2 separate regions of the Homo sapiens genome follow, and region 2 is linked to region 1. Evidence: promoter capture Hi-C in 16 types of primary human blood cells and fetal thymus (Javierre and others, 2016). All regions are on one chromosome and are shown on one strand. Each heading gives the region's core, a stretch centred on a gene start or on the middle of the fragment in contact. The rest is flanking DNA. Distances are from core to core; before and after follow the strand shown. Region 1 holds the start of KIAA0319L (KIAA0319 like). Region 2 overlaps ZMYM6 (zinc finger MYM-type containing 6).

What was found. The method cuts DNA at HindIII sites, captures the fragments that hold promoters and counts their contacts. A CHiCAGO score of 5 or more calls a contact.
Region 2: a contact is called between a fragment that was not itself captured here and the fragment with the promoter of KIAA0319L in region 1, in 1 of 17 cell types (erythroblasts). The highest score is 5.4, in erythroblasts.

What each region holds. Positions count from the first base shown.
Region 1 is chr1:35,555,187-35,559,061 of GRCh38, forward strand. It overlaps KIAA0319L (KIAA0319 like), which reads right to left and starts at 2,217. Exons shown (of 21, transcript NM_024874.5): 1 at 2,021-2,217. It overlaps NCDN (neurochondrin), which reads left to right and starts at 2,613. Exons shown (of 7, transcript NM_014284.3): 1 at 2,613-3,037. The coding sequence starts at 3,005. RefSeq lists enhancers at 1-846, 1,647-2,374, 2,375-3,101, 2,391-2,450, 3,829-3,875 and silencers at 1,911-2,010, 2,021-2,160, 3,232-3,441. The HindIII fragment of the contact is 13,260 bases long and covers 1-3,875 here.
Region 2 is chr1:34,985,845-34,990,135 of GRCh38, forward strand. ZMYM6 (zinc finger MYM-type containing 6) reads right to left here. Exons shown (of 16, transcript NM_007167.4): 16 at 321-3,091. The coding sequence ends at 1,260. Among named protein-coding and RNA genes, the nearest start is that of TMEM35B, 2.6 kb to the left of the region's middle. The HindIII fragment of the contact is 2,461 bases long and covers 284-2,744 here.

The DNA.
Region 1 (3,875 bases), core at 967-3,466:
TTACCATAAATTTCTCCCCTCATATAAAACTTTGCTATATTGTCTAAATTAGTACGTAAATATTGGCAACATTATGAGGGTTGACTGAGTTCTGAAGAAGCAATTCAAAAACTTCTGTCCAACTATGTACCTGTCATCTACATCCAGCAAACGACACAGGCTGCCAACCCCTAACTCCTATCCACGGCCAGCATACAGGGAGATCAGCATTGCCTGGGCTGGATACCAATACTGACTAATACCAAGAAACAGCCACAGACATACACACAGCTGCAAAACTAAGGTGCAGCCCACCCAAGAAAAGGCTTTTGCAGAACCACATGCATCTGAAGGACTTCATCGTTCTCATTCACTTCCATCCATTCCTATTTCTAGTTGTTTTGTAGTTGTATTTCAGGGAGCAGGGGGCAGAAAGGAGGTGTGTGGGCCAGAGACATGTTCAAGAGATTATGAAATGGAGCCTAAGTTAGAAAGTACATCCAGCAATTTCTCTAGCCTCCCAAGAGGGAACGAGTGAGTATGCATGTGTGCATGTATGGGTGTGTATGAATCTTACCCAACACATTTCTGCCTACCACAAAAGGATTTAAAACTCAAGGTGACTCAACAGCTGTCATCAATAGCCTGACAGGTGGGTGGGAGAAGCAGAAAAGAAATGAATAGCTTTTGAAAAATGGAGTAATAAACACCACTGGACTAACAAGCTGATTAGAAGTGCCATGTCTAATAAATCTTGCGTCTAAGAGAAAGGCAGAGTTAATTTCATTTGAACTCCTAACCAGTCATTCCTCTGAAACCTATAATTGCCTAAGGGCACAAATCACTGCTAGGGTCCAGTTAAAGGCTTGCTGACCAAACGCAAGAACAACAACACATCACCAAGATCCGAATAGTTTGTTACTGAATCAAAGGGTAACAACCCAGGGAGAGAACACACACCCCCACAATACTTGACAAATGAAAATCTAGAGAAGCTCACAATAGTTCTGGCATTTAGGGCGTTACAAGTACACCCAAAATAAAAGCACTCTCTGTTGCAGCAGCTGTTCAGACAGAGCAGGGGGTAATGTTTACTTAATACTTCAGGTTGATGGGGGATGTATCACAGTTCAGTCTGTCAACTACATACGTGGAACTCCATTTATGTACACAGCGATAAGATATGTTTGAACAACGATGGAGCACGTCTGAAACAATCTATTCAGTTGGTATGAGTAATCGAGAATAAAGCTCTTTTTTAAAAAGTCTCAGATATTTGGGAAAGTTACAGAACAGACTGCCATGAATAGCTTTGCTTATATTTGCAGACACTGTTTTCCAAATAGCTGGAAAAATGAACAGATTGTTCTGGGAGGTCGTCTTTCCAATTTGTTCCTAGTTTTCAGTCTGTTAATCACAGGAGAGAGCACAAGGAGAGTCAGCTAATGCTCTTCACTAACTGCAACTACTGTCAGTTGGACACAACCACTATGAGACCAGAAGCCAAAGAGTTCCTGGAATCCCGCCAGAGGTTATCAATTTTGACTTCCTTCATTTCACCTTTGTGCTCACTGCAGCCACTACAGGACCCTCTGTGGGGCATAATTTTCAAAATCGTGGATGAGGCAGGTTTCACATTATAATGGACACATCGTGCTCAACCCCATCCCCTCTTCATTCTGCACCAACTTTCTATCTCGGTGGAGAGACCAAACATCAGAGACAGCAACTAAAGACTAGGCTGCAGAGGTCGAAGGTGGAAGAAGGACGGCAGCGCCCCGAACCCCGGCTGTCTGCCTGGCTCTCAGGGGATGGAGGGAGCTGCATGACTAGGCCCAGGCCCGAGAGAAGCGGGGTTCAGCCTGGGACCCAAGCTGCGCACCTGCAAGGACAGAAGCAGCTGGCTGCCCTGGCCGAGCCAGGGGCGCCACCTCCGGACCCAACATCCGGCCAGCGCAGCCGCTGACATCGCCCGTCCCGCTTGCCCCTCCCCTGAGCCCATGGTCCTCGGCCTGGCAGCCAGCCGCCCCCGGCCACCTACCGGGGCTCAGGGCCACATAGCGGGGCCCCGGCTCTCGGCGGCCTCCGCCTCCTCCTGGTCCATGGGCTCGGGGACCCCCAACCTTCGCTCCCCTCACCCGGAGGAGGAGGAGGAAGAGGAAGAAGGTAGTGCGGGCTCCCCACCCGGACAGCTACCTCTCGCCTCAGCCTCCCTGGACAGCGACGGCGGCCGGAAACACCGCCTCCTCCCACCTCCCCGGGACCGACCCGGAAACACACTCTCCATGCTAACCAAGCCCTCCCGCCCCTCCCCCGGGAAGGGCAATGCCGGCCGCGAGACCAAGGGGGAGGAGGGGCAGTGCTGGGCGGGTAAAACTACGCACAAGCGAAGGAATCTGGGCCCCCAGCCTCTCGCCGCCCGCTCTCCAGAGGCAGTCTGCACCTTGCCTCCTTCGCTCGAGCCCCAGCCCCCAGACTCGGGCAATACCCACAAGCAAGATGGCGGCAACGGCGGCACCCCCTACTGCTTAGCACCCTGACTTGCCATTGGCCAGAGCCCGGAGTGAAGCAGCCGCGGATTCGTCAAGAGCGGTGCGGGGGTGGGGGTGGAGCTGCAGCAGCCTGGAGCCAGGAGTGGGCAACGCGGCGTGAGCAGCGGCCCGAGGCTCCCGGAGCATCGCGCTGGGAGAAGACTTCGCCGCTCGGGGCCGCAGCCTGGTGAGCTCAGCCCCCTTCGGGCCCTCCCCTGCATCCCAGCCGGGGCCTCTCCGAGCCGGCGCTGATCGATGCCGACACACCCCGGGGACCCTATCGCGACTCCATCGCGCCATATCGCGACACCATCGTGCCCTGTCGAGACTCCATTTTGTCACAGCCCTTTTCAATATATATCTTTTTTTTTTTTAATTTGCCCTGTCATCTTTGGGGGCTGTCTCCCATGTCGTGATTTTGACGTGATCTCTCCGTGACATCACCGCGCCATCGTGAAGTGTGATCTCATCGCCGCCCTGTCGTGACTTCATCAATGTCGTGTTGTGACCTGGCTGCGGCGGGACAGGTGGTGACCGCCAGGAACCCTCCTCCCCTTCTCATCTCCCCATCTCAGCAGCCCTGCTTCGATTATCCGGCTTTTGGATTCTCCGTTGTCCTGGGAACTATCCGGGACCCCCTCTTGCTTCTCCAGCCCCTGCCGGCATCCACAGGCTGGTAGCGGGACGGGGAGGGCGAGAAGAGGGAGCGCAAGGGGTTAATTCTGCTGCTGCCGCCGCCGCTGCTGCTGCTGCTGCAGCCTCTACCCGAGGGAGGGAAAGGAGAGGAGGCAAGGAGCCTGCGGGGGCGACTGAGAGCCCTGGCTGGAGGGGTGGGGTCCCCAAAGGGGCCTCCAAGCCTTCCCTGTTGAGCGTCTTGTATTCTCACTTCTGAAGCGTATCTCTGCCTCTGAAGAAGGGAGGGGAAAGGAAGCCTGGGGTGTCCTTTTCTCCCATGTCAGCCTGAGTCCGGATAATCGAACTTCACCCATGTATGTCTCCATTTCTCCCTGTCTGTCCTCACCACTCACTCCCTCTGTGTCCCTGTGGAGGGAGATAAAACCCAGCCTCCGGTGCCAGGGGGACAGCTGAGCAGTGGGGCCAGCTCCCGCCCACCCCCAGGAGACTGGTGAGGAGAGCTGTCCGGCTGAGCAGCAGCATGCATGGTCCTTCTTTCCCGCTTTCTGGAGGTGACCTTGGACCAGGGTCCCTTCTTTATCCCTAAGGATTTGCAGATCCAGCCCCTTAAAGGGGCTTCTGGGGGGAGGTCAGTCCTGAGGAGTCCACCCCTCCAGATTCTCTCCTCCCCTCCCTCTGTGCTAATCCCTCCCTCCCTCCATCCTCCACTCTCACCCCCACCCCACCCCC
Region 2 (4,291 bases), core at 264-2,763, 570 kb before region 1:
TTGCCTGAGATATCTTTTCCCTCTAATTTATCTCGGCTGACAATGAAATGTGAAAGGTGTTTGAAAATTCAGATACTTGCATGGATAGAGAGGCTTTCACTGAACCAAGCCCTACAGTCCACTCCTGGCCCATTTGCTCTTACCTGGAAATCTGTCTAAAGCTGGGATGGGCAAACCATGGGCCAAATTTGGCCAGATGTCTGATTTTTTTCCATGCTTCTCCCCTTCCCCCAAGCTAATAATGTTTGTTTACATTTTTTATGATAAAAACATTTTTTAAAGAAGCTTGTGTGACATAGGAAAATTATATGAAATTCATATTTCAGTGTTCATGAATAAGTTTTATTTAAAAACAGCCACACTTATCTGCATATTGTCTATGGCTGCTTTTGCACTGCAACTGCAGAATTGAGTAGTTGTGACAGTATGGCCTGCAAAGCTGAAAATATTTACTATCTGGCTCTTTATTTAAAAAGTTTGCTAAGCCCTGGTATATTGGGCCAGAAAGGCCCCAAGCAGGGGTCTCAAATCCCCCTGCTGCTTCCATTTATAGTTACCCAAGCTGCTTAGATCTATCTTTTTCCAGCTGGGCACGTTGGCTCACACTTGTAATCCCAGCACTTTGGGAGGCCGAGGCAGGTGGATCACTTGAGGTCAGGAGATAGAGACCAGCCTGACCAATATGGTGAAACCCCGTCTCTACTAAAAAAAATACAATAGACGGGCATGGTGGCACATGCCTGTAACCCCAGCTACTTGGAAGGCTGAGGCAGGAGAATTGTTTGAACCTAGGAGGCAGAGGTTCCAGTGAGCCAAGATCACGCCATTGCACTCCAGCCTGGGCAACAAGAGCAAAACTCCATCTCAAAAAAAAGATCTATCTTTTCCACCTACTCACAACCTTGCAGGGGTAAGTAGCTGGTTGGCTAGAAGACTGAAATGTTCCACTTGCTTCTAAAGGCCAAGCTGTTTCAACATCCAGGTTGTGCTGTTACATTATAAACTGGGCTTCTCATTACCTGCAGTCTTTGTCACTAGTCCAAATTTAATGAAATAACTAAATTTTCTACCCTAGATTATAATTATACATAATTATTTATAACAATCATAATTATTAAATTCCTCAACAAAAAGGGAAAAATTATTAAAACATTTAATCACTGAAAACACAAATCCACATTAGGAAATTATCTTTTAGGATACTTATACAAAACTTAACACAGGATTATTGACTTCACTGTTAAGCAATGTGCATATTGCTACTCTTTCTCCTTCACTAATTTTTCTATCCTTGGAATTAAAGATGTGACTGCAAGTCTTAGGGCAGGGCCAGAACCCAACAGATTTTTTTGTTTTGACTCAGTCAAAGCTGAAAAGGCAGCATCACATAAATAAACAGTTGAAAAGGGTAATAAAAATTTCATTGCCCTTTCATGGAGTTCTGGGTAACTTGTCTTTGCATTTATCCAAAACTGAGTTACAGACACTGATTTAAATAGTGCTTGTAATCCTAAATCTGAAGATAGCTCTGTTAGCTTTTCTTCTTCGAAGTCGGTGAGATTATTATTTTGGTGATTCATAAAAGGGTGAATTATCCACAAATTTCCTGAACGCAAGTCTTGTTCTGGTGGAAAACAGTCACTGAACACTTGAGAAAGTCCTTCCAGGTGCTCAAAAATAATCCTTGTGATGTCTGTCATATTTAAGCCTGATGAATTTGAGAATTCAGAAAATGAAGGGAACATGTCATAATCATTCTCTTGTGTGCGCTTCAACCACATTTTTAACTTTCTCTTAAATACATCAATTTTATTACACAAATTGAAGAAAGTAGTCAAAGTTCCTTGGAGACTTAAATTTAATTCATTTATAAGTGAAAATATATCTGATAAGTAGGCCAGCTTTCCAACCCATTCCTCATCATGAAAATACTTGGCCAAATCTGAATGCTTTTGACTTAAAAATATTTCAATCTCATGTCGTAATTCAAATAATCTTTTTAACATTCTCCCTCTTGATATCCAACGTACTTCAGCATGAAGCGGTAAACTCACATGCTCAGATCCCATCTCTTCACACAAAATTGTTAACATACGTGAATTTAATGCATTGCTCTTTATAAAACTTAAAATTTGTGCTGACTGCAAAAGAATTTTATGTAAACATGGAGACAACTTTTCTGCCACTAAACGTTCACGGTGAATAAAACAATGTGTAAATGCCGCTGTATTCATGGCAACTTCTTGAATTTTTGCTTTTAAACCAGAATACCTGCCAGTCATGCTTGCAGCCCCATCGGTACAGAGACCAACACAATGTTTCCAATTCAGAGATTTACTATCAATATATTTATTTATTAGTTCAAATATTTCAAAGCCAGTTATTTGAGTAGGCATTTCAATGCAAAATAATAATTCTTCTTTTACATCACGACAATCATAATCAATGAAACGAATATAGCACAAAAGAAGTGTGATATTTGAGATTTCTGATGACTCATCTATCTGAAGGGCAAACCACTTTGACTCTCTGACCTTTTGAATCAGCTGGTCTTCAATGTCTGCAGATAGTTCATCAATCCTGTGTTGAATTGTAACATTAGAAAGTGGAATAGTTTTCATTTTGTCTCCAGCACTTGAACCCAAAACTTCTGAACACATTTCTACTAAATATGGTTTAATTAATTCTTCAGCAATGGAGAATGGCTTCTTGCTTGCAGCAGTTTGGAAAGCAATTAAATAAGAAGCTTTCACAAGTGACTTTTCAACTAGTAAACACTTTTTTAAAGAACTATTTTGACATTCCATTTCTAAAGATTTTTGTTCAAAAAAATCTACTGGTTTGTTTTCTAATTCTGAATGTTTTGTCTTCAAATGATGAGAAAGATTTGCTGGCTTCATGTTTTCACTGGATAAGATCTCTCCACAAATGACACACTGTGGCCTTGGTGAACTTTCTTTTGATCCAGGACAGATAATAAAACCAACTTTTAAATATTCTGTATCATAAGTCTGGAAAAAACCTAATCTTTTTTTCTTTGAAGGTGGAGAATCAAGTTCTGCATCATTTTTTTCATTAGGCATAGGTAAATCTGAATGAAATATTTGAATCACTGTTATTTTCAAGAACAAATAAGCAATGTTCTTTATGTATCTCCCCACATATTTAAAATTCATATTTTGTTACTATTTCTATTTATCAAAAGAATGCACTGGTAAAAGTTTAAGCACAAGTCATAATACTTCCAATGATGCTACTGAAAACTGAATTTCTCCTTTGCCCAAAGCTTGATCACTAGGTATAATAAAACTGTAGGATGTGGTACATGTACAAGTAATCCCAAGCACCCAATAGGTTATTGAAATTAGGGCTGAAGACCATGATACACATCAAATTAACAATAAACTTTTTGGCTGAGCAGGGTGGCTCACACCTATAATCCCAGTGCTTTGGGACACCAAGGTGGGTGGGTCACTTGAGCCCTGGAGTTAGAGACCAGCCCGGGCAACATGGCGAAACTCCATCTCTACATTAAAAAAAAAAAAAGAAGAAGAAAAAAAATTGGCTGGATGCAATGGCACACACCTATAGTCCCAGCTACTTGGGTAGCTAAAGCAAGAGGATTGCCTGAGCCCAGGAGGTTGAGCCTGCAGAGAGCCATGATCACACCACTGCACTCTTGAGACTACGTCTCAAAAAAAAACAAAAAGAATAAATTTTTTATTGGTGAGTGACACTGGTGTCAAAAAATTTTTTTAAAGAAAAAGAAAAAAAAGGCCAGGCATGGGGCTCACACCTGTAATCCCAGCACTTTGGGAGGCCAAGGCGGGCAGATCACCTGAGGTCAGGAGTTCGAGACCAGCCAGGCCAACGTGGTGAAACCCCGTCTCTACTAAAAACACAAAATTAGCCAGGCATGGTGGTACATGCCTATAATCTCAGCTACTTGAGAGGCTGAGGCAGGAGAATCGCTTGAACCCGGGAGGCGGAGGTTGCAATGTGCCGAGATCATGTCATTGCACTCCGGCCTGGGAGACAAGAGTGAAACTCCATCTCAAAAAAAAGAAAGAAAAGGAAGAAAAAGAGACAGAAAAATAATGTTTTACTTTCAAACAATCCAGAAAAAAAAAGAAAATAAATATTGCAAAAAGTTAACATTTCATTAATCTGGATGAAGAGTATACTAGTATTGACTGTACTGTATATTCAACCTTTCTGAATTTTGATACTCAGTGTCAGTGAGGTTGTAGAGAAATGGATCCTCCTGAACACTGCTGGTTGGAGCATACAT